Regions from separate parts of the Homo sapiens genome. Here all the other regions are linked to region 2. Evidence: promoter capture Hi-C in 16 types of primary human blood cells and fetal thymus (Javierre and others, 2016). All regions are on one chromosome and are shown on one strand. The core of a region is centred on a gene start or on the middle of the fragment in contact, and the rest is flanking DNA. Distances in the headings are between cores, read along the strand shown. Region 1 overlaps SUMO1 (small ubiquitin like modifier 1). Region 2 holds the start of WDR12 (WD repeat domain 12). Region 3 overlaps RAPH1 (Ras association (RalGDS/AF-6) and pleckstrin homology domains 1).

Region 1 (3,717 bases), core at 471-2,970, 680 kb before region 2:
AAAAAAAAAAAAAAAAAAGTTTTTTGTTTTTTTTCCTTTTCTTTTTTTTTTTTTTTTTTTTTTGGGACAGAGTCTTGCTCTGTCGCCCAGGCTGGAATGCAGTGGCATGATCTCCGCTCACTGCAACCTCCACCTCCCAAGCTCAAGCGATCCTCTCGCCTCAGACTCCCAAGTAGCTGGGATTACAGGCATGAGCCACCAGGCCCAGCTAATTTTTGTATTTTTAGTAAAGACGTGCTTTCCTCATGTTGGCCAAGCTGGTCTCAAAGTCCTGGCCTCAAGTGATCCCAAAGTGGTGGGATTACAGGCGTAAGCCACCCTACTCAGCCATTAAGAAGTGTTTCACTCAAATTCCAAAAACAATCATTTTTTCATTAATCAATGGAGGACCCAGCAATTGAAGTCTTGTGTGTATTTAATGTCCACCGATTTTAACCTTGTTATTACTCAATTTCACTATTTTAACACCAGACAATAACCTTCTGAGAGCTGCCTCAGAAAACACATCACTCTAAAATAACTTGATTCAAATTAAGGTTGTCTTCTTAGGACAGTGGTTTAGTCTCATGCTGATATTAAACAGTACAGGATTTGGAGATTCTTGTTCTCACTTATAAACCTCTTAAGATTAAGGGTTCAGCTTTATAACTCTTTTAAGTCTTTAGCACTCAACACTGAACTTGTACTGGGTCTTCTTTGTTTTGAGTCAGGGTCTCTATCGCCCAGGCTGAAGTACAGTGGCATGATCTTGGCTTGCTGCAACCTCGACCTCGCAGGCTCAGGTGATCCTCCCATATCAACCTCCTGAGTAGCTGGGACTACAGGTACAGGCCATCATGCCTGGCTAATTTTATTTTTTGTAGAGACGACGTCTCTCTATATTGCCCAGGCTGGTCTCAAACTGGGCTCAAGCAATCCTCCCCCACTTAGGCCTCCCAAAGTGCCAGGATTACAGGTGTGAGGCGCTGCACCCGGCCAATGTACTGAGTCTTTTTTTTTTTTTTAAACGGAGTCTCACTCTGTCGCCCAGGCTGGAGTGCAGTGGAGTGATCTCCAGTTACTGCAACCTCCGCCTCCCGGGTTTAAGCAGTTCTCCTGCCTCAGCCTTCTGAGTAGCTGGGATTACAGGTGCGCACCACCACGCCTGGCTATTTTTTGTATTTTTAGTAGAGACGGGGTTTCACCATGTTAGTCAGGCTGGTCTAGAACTCCTGACCTCGTGATCCACCCAACTTGACCTCCCAAAGTGCTGGGATTACAGGCTTAAGCCACTGCACCCGGCGAGTCCTAATGATGTTGGTCAATCAGCCTACAGCAACAGTTCTCAAACTTTTTGTTCTCAGGAATCTTACACTTAAATTTATTTAGAATCCCATAAAGCTTTTGTTAGGTTGGTTACATCTATTGATGTTTACAGTATTAAACACTGAAAACTGAGAAATGTCTTAAATATTAATTCATTTTAAAATACCAACAAACCTGTTATATGTTAACAAATATATATTTTTATTAAAAATATTTTTCAAAACAAAATTAATGAAAGAGTGGGACTGTTACACATTTTTGCAAATCTCTTTAATGTCTGGCTTAATAAAAACAGCTAAACAGCTGGATTTTCACATCTGCTTCCACATTTAATTTGTTTTATCACAAGTCATGTTAGTTTCTAGAAACGTCCATTGAACACTCATGAAAGAATGACAGTGAAAAAGACAAATAATGTCCTAGTATGAACATGAAATAAAAGAATCTATTTGTATCCTAGGTCCTTCATTTCTTTATGTATCTCTTAAATAACCTGACTTCAAAATGGAGCAATAAATTCTACATTTTATAATTATTTCTTTATGTTGCTCTTCCATCAGTCTACAATAAATTTCAAAATGCTTCCTAGACGCTTCTGGGAAACAAAATAAAAGGCTGACGAAACTAAGCATTTACGCCTATACTTTTCTTCCTAGTAACCAAGTAAACAACTACCTAGGGAAACACAATGCCCACTTGGGAATTAATCTAGATTATTAGTAAGTAGATCCATCCAAAATTCATCTAGATTATGGTTAAGCTTTAAAATGTTAAGTGTACATTTTGTACAATAGTACCAATCTGCAAAAACCTCACTTGCTCTCACGAAATGGTACAAAACTGGGTTAAAAGCCAAGGGAATAGGTGTGTTAAATTTAAAAGTTCAAGTACATCGTGGAGTTGAATGAAAAATAGTTTTCTGAATAACTACCATTAAATGAGTAAAAGTCCAAAAATAATGTAAAAAGTCAAAGTCGGCTGGGCGCGGTGGCTCACGCCCGTAATCCCAGCACTTTGGGAGGCCGAGGTGGGCGGATCACGAGGTAAGGAGATCGAGACCAGCCTGGCCAATATGGTGAAACCCCGTCTCTACTAAAAATACAAAAATTAGCTAGGTGTGGTGGTGAGTGCCTGGTGGTGAGTGCCTGTAATCCCAGCTACTCGGGAGGCTGAGGCCCGAAAATTGCTTGAACCCAGGAGGCGGGAGGGTGCAGTGAGTGGAGATCGCACCACTGCACTCCAGCCTGGCGACACAGCGAGACTCCGTCTCAAAAAAAAAAAAAAGTCAAAGTCGTCTGAGCAAACAAAAGACCAGACAAAAACTTTATGAATTAAAAACTAGCCATAAAGTTGTTTAATTAGAACAGGATGAGGAAGAAAAGGGGAAATCGATCACTCCTGATTAAGTGCAAATCCCAAGTAAATTATTGATACTAACAGTGAGCTGGAGCACTTTGCCTTACCAGGCAACTTTCTGCAAATATTCTGCAACGACTCTACATACACAAAGTTTTCCTATGCTTTTCCTCAAAAATATGAGACTTCCTCAGGTTAATGCCCAGGTGAGATGCTTTTTGTTGCTCTAGCAGTTTAGTTCTATTTTCTTTCTTGGTTATTATGAATGCTCTCTTACAACTGGAGAGCTAGGATGAACCAATCCCGAGTAAGAAACGGGAAAGTACAGTAAAGAGGCGACAGCTCTGCACCCCCACACGGAAAAAGACTCAGAGGAGAGCAGCGGCATCCTTGCCCTAGCTCCAATCCGAACGGAGGCAGGATTCCCAACAACATCGGACGTCTCCCTCCCTCGCCGCCCCACGCCCTCCCGACGAAGAAGCAAAAAGTGGAGAGTCCAGCCGCTTCTCAGGGCCACGGAGCCTCCCAGTCAGGGATTCTCTCCCGTTACATAACTAAGGCCTAGGGCCCTGCTTCTGCGATTAGTCCTCTGGAAGGAGACGGACGGGTTCTCCAGAGACCCTCCCAGGGAGGTGGAAGCGGGGCTCTGCACCTAGTCGACCCGGGAGAAAGAAGTGGGACGACATGAGGGAGGCCGCCACCAAAGGCGGTGGGGTACGGGGGTGATGAGCGAGCCCGGAGAGGGGCGGGCGGCTCCGGGAGCCCCGCAGCAGGCCCCGGCACCTCCGGCCGTAGTCGGCTCCTCTCCCTCGCCTGCCTAGTCCCCACCGGCCGCCCCCTCCCCCATTCCGCGCTCCCCTCCCCCGCGCCTCCATCCCCGACCCCAGCCTAGCGGCAGGCAGACCTGCAGGGAAGGCCCTGGCCACCGCCGTTGGATGGCTCCCAGCCCGGTACCTGGTCAGACATGATGACGGTGGCTTCACCCGGGGGTCTCCGCACAGCAGCGGCCTCGGGTAAGCAGAACCTCGCTCCGGGGTTTACAAATCCTTCTCCCTT
Region 2 (4,006 bases), core at 109-2,608:
GAGTTCGAGACCAGCATGGCCACCAAGACAAATTCCTGTCTCTACTAAAAATACAAAAATTAGCCAGGCTTGGTGGCACATGCCTGTAATTCCAGCTACTCTGGAGGCTGAGGCGGGAAGATTGTTTGAACCCGGGAGACAGAGGTTACAGTGAGCCAAGATCCCACCACTGCAGTCCAGCCTGGGCAACAGAGTGAGACTCTGTCTCCAAAAAAACCAAACCAAACAAACAAAAAAAAGCCCCACATATTTCAAAAAATTTTATTTTAAGAAAAACAAAAAAACCTACTTTCAATTAAAAAACACAGTGGTTATGTTAATGCATCACCACATTCCTAGAGAAGTATTAAGGCAATGTATGTAAGTAAGTACATATACTCAGGTGCATTGATAATACGATTTATGTATACTTTCAGCAACAACACAAGGGGAGAGAAGATGATTTACTAGCTCTCCTCATAAAGCTACAAACAAAACCACAGATGTAACTCAGGTGGGAGTTTCCTAGTTTATGGCTAACTTTAGCTTATTAACACGACAAATATTATCATTTTCACTGAAAAATTTGACATTTTTTGTTGACTCAGCCAATCCAAGAAGCTTAATTAATATATAGTCCCTGCCCTCAAGAGACTTCCAATATAGTTGGAAGAGACCAGGCAAACACAAAGAAAGCTAACAATGCAATATATACCACAAGGCAGCATATAATTAGTTTTCGAATGAGTGCTAACAGACCTTGAGACCACTGGTTAAAATGTTTATATATCTATATAGATATACATAAATGGTAAATATGTTTTTTCATTTTCAAAAACTTTTTTTCCGTTTTCAAAAACTGTGAACCACCACTAGCAGACACCCTATAACAAGGCCCACTGTTCATTTTTAAATTACACATATAAAATGTTTCATTCAGAAAGCAAACCTGAAGCCCTTCAGCCTCCTCCACACTCACAATTCAAATTATATAGAACCTACGAAGCTGGTTAGAAAGCAGGTAATCTCAGAAAAAAGGGTGGGGGTGACAGCAGAAACAACCAGGGATCCACAAGGTCATACCAAAGGGGTGGTCGGAAAGGAACCTGGGGAAGGGAGAGAAGGCTGGAACGCTTACTTACTTCTTGTTATCAGTGTAGAAGCGTGTTTGGAGCTGAGCCATGGCGAGGAGTACACACGACTTGCCCACGGAAACGTACGGGTTAGCAGACCCACAACACGAAGCTCCTGCCTTTTAAGACTACAAAGAGGCAGCTCAAAATTAGACTGCACAGGTAAGCGAGGAACTGCAGTCTAAGCCTGGACTCTGCCTTCTGCCCTCCGGTCTCCTCTGCAGAAAGCACGAGGTTGCCCTTCTACAGACGCCCAGACCACAAACATCGACTACCTACTCCTAGATTTAGGAGTCATCGATTAGAAAAGGATAGTCGTAAAGGTAGCATGTCCCTTTAATCATTGTTAGAATTCTTCCCATACGTGTGGGCCCGTAATCGATTAGGAAAAAGATCCCACTCAAATCCGCTTTATTAATAAAAAATTTTTTTTCAAGAGGCTGTCCTGAGCCTGGATAGTTCAAACACAGCTCCTAGTTACTACAAGTCTCAGAAAGCATCGCTTCTCAAACGCTGTGACCACCGGGAATTGTAGTCTTTTTTTGCCACGCTGCCCTCAGAGTATCTTATTTGCATTAAATCCTCTAGACTCCAGCCAGATATCAAATTTCCTCTGCCTTCAGCTTTGCTTGACTAACGCCTTGCCAGTTTTTTTTTCTCATACATATTCCCAACCAGAGGCTCACTCGGCAGAGGTTTTTCCTAAATCTCGCCTCTAACTGCGGCTTTTAGAGAGAGGCGAGAGGCGGAAATACAAAGAAAAGAACGGATGAGAGAGGAAACGGTCGACGGTGGCCGATAGTGGTCCTACTGTCGTGGGACTGCTCTGCGCGCTCCCGGTGGGGCGCGCCTGCGCATTATGCTGGTCTCCATGGCGGGGCCTCGGAGCCAAGACGAGGTTGAGTAGACTCGTTTTGAATTTTCTCCCCTCTGCTCCGGCGGACTTCCCATGTCGCCTTGTGGGGCTATCGGCGGCGGCAGGACTGGGGGAGTCAGAGGTCTGGCAGCGCTGTCTGCGCAGACCTACCGGACGCTACCTCCCAACCCCCCGTCTTCCTCCTGCCTCCTCCTCCTCCCGTCACCTCCTGACCCGCCGGAGCTCCGAGCAACTGCCGGCCTCCGCCCCCAGCCGCAGCCGGTCACTGGCGGCGCCTTCCGCGCCAAGCTTGGGGGCCTTTTCGGGGTCCCACATGGCACGGCTTCCGACCCCCGGCCCGGGACGGGGCTCGCAGGCCCCAGAGGGGCAGGCTGGAGAAGGAGGAGGTTAGGTGTCTTCAGGAGGGTTGCTGAGCCCAAGGACGCGCCATCGCCGCGGAGAAGGAGCCGGACCCCTTGGGCGGAGCGCCCAATGTGTGGTCCCTCACGCCGTCCCGCACCTTGCTTTTTAGGGTTCTTTTTCCGCTTTCTGAGCCCTTTTATACCTTACGTTTAGAAGGGGAAAATCATCCTCCCACACCTTCTCCCCGACTTTTTGCCTTTTTTGTCTTGAAGTTACCCAAAGGCCTGTGTATTGTTCTCAATGGTCCCAAGAATTACTCTAATATAGTTGTTTTTCTGAGGGAGGATGGATGGAGATAACTATCCTGATCCCAATGTCACTTTTTAAGGCATTCGCTTCAAGAGACAAGCAGTTTAGAATCAGGCAGAACTGGATTGCAAAATTTATGGGCAGACCGGTATGTGTGCAGGTGAAGACAAAGCTTTCCTTTTTTACGTTGTTTAAAGATGTCCTACTGTAAGGTAGACGCCTAATGTTTAAATGAACGCCTAATATTTAAATAGAGAATGAGAAGAGATTTAAACAATTGGAAGAAAAAATAATTTTTATTAGAGAGCAATGACAATAAAAGTAGGACTCTTTTCAGTTTACTCACCTTTGTAGCTCCGAATCCGGGCCCTGGAACCAGAATTCCTGGGTTCAAATCCTGCCTCTGCTACTTGATTAACCTTTTTGTGCCACACTTTTATCAACTATAAGAATTAACTGCGGCATCGGAAGCACTCAGTATATGTTAATTATTATCATCAAATAGTTACTAATTCCAGTTTAACTAGAAGCTTTGCCAGCGTGAATAGATAAGGGAGAATAGCCACATTGAGTGGAGGAATAAAATTAGAAAACCTCTGTGCTGAAGTCCCAGGAGATCACTTATTAGGCTTGAGCTTGCTAATGGAAGTGGTGATCGTTTAACCATGTGGTTATTGTAGTGGTGAGGATTTACACATTAAATAAGTCTTGGGCATCTGAAGCTTGAAACACTTTCTTAATGAAATCTTGCCGTTGAATCTGTACTTACTGGTAATATGTCATTGGTTAAAATATATTTATAAAATGTATAATTGACCAGCAGGTTAATACATTTTTATCATTAATTTGAAATTTATCAAAATGAGAATATACAGTACCTGACAGTAGAGTTTGATCTTAATTTGATTTGAAAATTATGATCAGGAAAATAACCTGAATATATGCTTAATAATATAAGACTTTCAGTTTGCAAAACAGAAATCCTGACTTGACTAAAATACACTTTTCATTTGACGGAGACCTTTAGTTAAGGAAAGATTAGTTTTAGCATTCAACATAACTAAATACCCAGCATTATGTTTTACGGTTTTTTTCAACAATGATTTATGTGTCGTGTTTGGTGTTGCCTCCAAACAGTACCTAGGATAGCTGATGCTTTTACTTTGAGTCTTTTTCTTTAGTTGGAACATTAATTGCAAGCTTTTGGTTGGTAATCATTTTTTATGGGATGTATTTACTATATGGTCCTCATGGAGACACATTGTTATCTGGAGAACCACAGTTTGGAAAATACATTTCTCTTTATTATAAAGTTTTTTGTTTTATATATATAATGCCACAGTGTGATAGGATACAAAGACTATGC
Region 3 (4,328 bases), core at 1,729-4,228, 540 kb after region 2:
TTAGAACCTCAAAACATTTTTTCATCCTCTCACATAATAAAGGCATTCATTACTTTCCTTATGGTCATCCAGGCTCTGTACAAGTACTTCTGCAGATTGTCTGTTCTGCTAATACATTATTTTATTAAAAGTGGCATTTATTGCACCCTTGCTATGTACTAGACACTATGTAAAATATTTCACATACTTCACATTTTTCATTAAATACTCACAAAACCTCTCTGAGTTACATATTATTATCTCCATGTTCCAAGAAGAAAGCAAGGCACAGAGTAAGGTTAAAACAGCGCTCAAAATTGCTTCCGATAAGTGAAAGGTAGTACTAGAATTTGAACCCATGCAATCTCATCCCAGAGTGCATGCTTTTAACTACTATTTCATACTACTGCCTTATTAAAATGTGCCCCTTTGAATCTGCTACCTCTGCTCCTTTTTTCCCCACAATATTATGCTGTCATTTTTAAAATTATACCAGGGTTAAGAGGAAGGCTGGAGGAAACATTCATTGCTAAAAACCAGAAGCTCCACATTTAGATTCTTAAGAGAGTCCAGAGAACATATAATGAAATTGCTCCCAAAACAGATGAATACCTATTAAGAAAGAAAGGTCAACATTTCATTTTTAAAATGACCCTGACAGGTTGAGTGCAGGCCCCTATGGCTATCTCCTCCTCCCCACTTCTTTCCTGGCAGAGCCTTACCTCTCACCTATATCCCACAGGGTGTGAATTCTGACTGGTGTAAGCCAACCATAGTAGTTTTATTCCCTTGTCAGTGATTGGCTTGTCAGCAGAAAATGTACTCTGGGCCAGTAACTCTCAAAAGGAGGGTGGTTGAGTAACTTCTGTGAAATAGTTCCTTCCTCTTATAAAAGACAAATACAGGGAGCAATAATCCCTCTTCTGCTGGCTGGATTTTTCTGGGTCTACATGTGATGCATAGAACTGCAGCAGCCATCTTGGGACTGTGAGGTGAATCAGCCTGAGAATAAGCTGATATGCGGGAAGTAGAACAAGGAAAGATGGAAAGAATTTGAGTTCTCACTGACAACCTTGAGCCACTGAAATAACCAACCAACTTTTACTGTTTTCATGTTATGAGAGTCCCCCAATAACTTTCTTTTACGTGGATTATGTCTACTGATATTGAAGGAGTTAAAAATGTACCACCCTGGCATATTGACTAAGTTAAAAGACACTTGAAAAACAGCAGGTACAGAAGATCACTCTGACCTTCATGCTATTTCTTAAAAGCCTTAGAAGATGAAATTACCATGCAAAAGATGCTTTCTCAATACTAGAAAGCGAAAATATCTTTCTCCTCAGGGATGAGAAGTTGAAACCAACAGAATTCTGTACAGACCTTGTTAAAATAACTCGTATCTTTAAGGCTTCACATATAATTTAGTTGCTTCTTCACAAATTATTCTTTGTCCAATCCAGTATACAAGTAATTATGCTTTTCTCCTGTTGATCTCTTATGTCAATTTAATTTGTGTGCCCAGCTAGGACCCTAAGAGTATGAAGTGAAGTTTTTCCACCCCAGCAATACTTACATTATAAATTAAAACTAAGAAAAAAATTAAACTACAAGAATACACAGGCCAGGCCAGGCACAGTAGCTCACGCCTATAATCCCAGCACTTCAGCAGACTGAGGCAGGCGGATCACTTGAGGCCAGTCTGACCAACATGGCAAAACCTCATCTGTCCTAAAAATACAAAAATTAACTGGGTGTGGTGGCATGTGGCTGTAGTCCCAGCTACTCGGGAAGCTAAGGCATGAGAACTACTTGAACCCGGGAGGCAGAGGTTGCAGTGAGCCGAGATCACATCAGCCAGGGAGACAGAGTGAGACTGTCTCAAAAATAAATAAATAAATAAATAGACAAACACACATTACACTAGCGTGAAGATACCATCACATGTCATATAACCTCTTAGAAAACTCCACTATACATATGTGAGAGAATGAAAGTTCAAGAGGCAAATAACATCTTAGCATTATTAAATAATTTTGACATCATGGTCTTAGGGACTGACTCTCAGGAGACTGTGGACCTCATTTTGAAAACTGCTGAATTAAGCTACTTTGTACTGACTTTTAAAAAACTATTTGCACCTAAAGGTACCTAAAATGATACAGTGGTGTTCCCCAAAAACACAATTATGTAATAAAAGGTTACCATTATGGCCAGGAGCAGTGGCTCTGCCTGTAATCCTAGCACTCTGGGAAGCCTAGGCAGGCAGATTGCTTGAGGCCAGGAATCTGTGACTAGCCTAGGCAATATGGCTAAACCCTGTCTCTACAAAAAAACACAAAAATTAGCTGGGTGTGGTGGCATGCACCTCAAGTCCCAGCTACTTGGGAGACTGAGCTGGGAATATCGCTGGAGCCTGAGAAGTCGAGGCTACAGTGAGCTGTGATTGTGCCACTGCACTCCAGCCTGGGTGACAGAGCAAGACCCTGCCTCAAAAAAAAAAAAAAAAAAAAAAAAAAAAAAGGTTGCTACTACAATGTACTGACTTTATCAAAGCAATCAAAACTCCAAAATCCTAAAATCCTAAAACTCCCAAACTAATGGCAGTCCCCAAACTAAAGTGACAATTCTCAGAGAAAAGTGAAATTAAACATGATATGAACATGTAGACCTAAGTAGTTACCAAGAAATTACAAAGATGGAGCCAATGAAAAAAAAATTATCTCCCTAATTTTCTTGAATTTTTGTATGTCGTTTTTATCAGTGTTCTAATAGATCACTATAAATTTGCTTAAAATGTCCGTTCTTCTCAGAAGTACAGATATAATCATTGCAAGAAGTACAAAAGCTTGAATAAAGAAGAAAAAAAAACCTCCCTAAAAACAGCTCAGGTCACAATACATACATGGGCTATCATGACTATAGTTCAGGGAAAAAAAGAGACAAAAATTATTTCTGGACCAGATAACAGCCAGTCTGATTTGAACTTGGACACAGTGCCCTCTGATGGTTTGCTGAGTAAGTACAGGAAAAGAACTAAAGCACATTTATGACCTACATTCGGCTCTGTTCTAAGTTTTCCTAAAATAAGCCTGGTGTTAAATGAGAATCTCAAATTTATAATCAAATACATTTTATATCTCACAACTCAAAGCTTACAATCTAATATTCACTCCTTACCTAGAGATAATTGGCCCAGGGTCTGCTATGATATAGCACATGCTTCTTTTCCTTACCACACTTCACCATTCCTTTTTAAACTTTGAGAATAAAGCAAAAACAGTATAATTGATGGAATCTCAACAGTTCTAAAATATCCAATAACCTGCTCTATGTCTAACATCAATTAAAATTCCTAAAAAGAAATATGTGTTTACCTTCAGCACCAGACAATAGTCTGTAGGTGCTTTGTATTTGTTCCGATAGTCCTGGCCATAATAAACGTTGACATGATCCAGCTGGAGAAAGCACACCAGATCCCGAGAGACCTAAGATAAAAACACCAAAAAGATAAAATTAATAATAATGCACAAACAAGCAAATATACCTGGTTAACATTTTCTAGGTGAGAATCAAAACTACTTTTGCTAATACTAAATAGAAATTATTGCTATTTACACGAGACAATGAGATGCTCCATAAATGTTTCTTCTTTAATCATTAACGTAACAAAAAAGCAGCCCATTTTACTTACTGTTTTGTCATTCACAATGAACACTAACTTGTTAAGGAGTGTTGGCATTTTAAAGATACTATTAATATAGTCTAGTACATTAAAAACAATAATGTATAATAGAGCTCTCTGGAAAGAACAAGAAAATATCAAGTCGTTCAGTGCCTATAATGCATATGTAAAGTATAGTGATTCGCAACTGGTTGGGGGGAGGTTTTCACCAGTTAAATAGGGGCAACAATATATGCTCATAGGACTATTGTGAAGACTAGATGAGATAATACTGTAAAAAAGTTTAAAACAGTCCTGGTGCCAATAAGCACCGAAGTGATAGCTACACCAGGGTGGCCCTTAGCAGAAGAAGCATATTACCCAAACAAGATAAAAAAGCCTGTAATCCCAGAGAGCTGTGCTGTTCTTCCCAAACAAAAATAAACAAAACTACTCCAGAAAGAGTCCCCAAAAAACAACAAATAAAACTATGATTTCAAATTTGGTAAAGAGAACTGAGATAGGCTCAACTAGTGACCAGAGAAGTAAGAACTTTCAGGTTTCTTCTTCTTTATAATAGATTAATAAACAAAGCAATATTCTATGTCTTCCACGAACTGAAACAAATCATAGCCTGGGTTCACCTTGTCAGCATACTCAATACAAATTAAAAGCAATTAGCATA

Evidence for each region. Contacts are between HindIII fragments. The CHiCAGO score rates a contact against its expected background, and 5 or more counts as called.
Region 1: a fragment that was not itself captured here is called in contact with the fragment with the promoter of WDR12 in region 2 in 2 of 17 cell types (naive B cells and total B cells); the score reaches 8.9 in naive B cells.
Region 3: a contact is called between a fragment that was not itself captured here and the fragment with the promoter of WDR12 in region 2, in 3 of 17 cell types (megakaryocytes, fetal thymus and erythroblasts). The highest score is 11.5, in megakaryocytes.

Annotation. Positions count from the first base shown.
Region 1 is chr2:202,234,825-202,238,541 of GRCh38, forward strand. SUMO1 (small ubiquitin like modifier 1) reads right to left here. Exons shown (of 5, transcript NM_003352.8): 1 at 3,616-3,717. The coding sequence starts at 3,627. Among named protein-coding and RNA genes, the nearest start is that of SUMO1, 1.9 kb to the right of the region's middle. RefSeq lists a silencer at 3,238-3,427. The HindIII fragment of the contact is 685 bases long and covers 1,379-2,063 here.
Region 2 is chr2:202,910,315-202,914,320 of GRCh38, forward strand. It overlaps WDR12 (WD repeat domain 12), which reads right to left and starts at 1,359. Exons shown (of 13, transcript NM_018256.4): 1 at 1,122-1,359. The coding sequence starts at 1,162. CARF (calcium responsive transcription factor) reads left to right here and starts at 1,961. Exons shown (of 17, transcript NM_024744.17): 1 at 1,961-2,788. RefSeq lists enhancers at 1,542-1,691, 1,702-1,851, 1,892-2,091, 2,192-2,241. The HindIII fragment of the contact is 1,677 bases long and covers 599-2,275 here.
Region 3 is chr2:203,451,074-203,455,401 of GRCh38, forward strand. RAPH1 (Ras association (RalGDS/AF-6) and pleckstrin homology domains 1) reads right to left here. Exons shown (of 14, transcript NM_213589.3): 10 at 3,357-3,467. Among named protein-coding and RNA genes, the nearest start is that of RAPH1, 82 kb to the right of the region's middle. The HindIII fragment of the contact is 306 bases long and covers 2,826-3,131 here.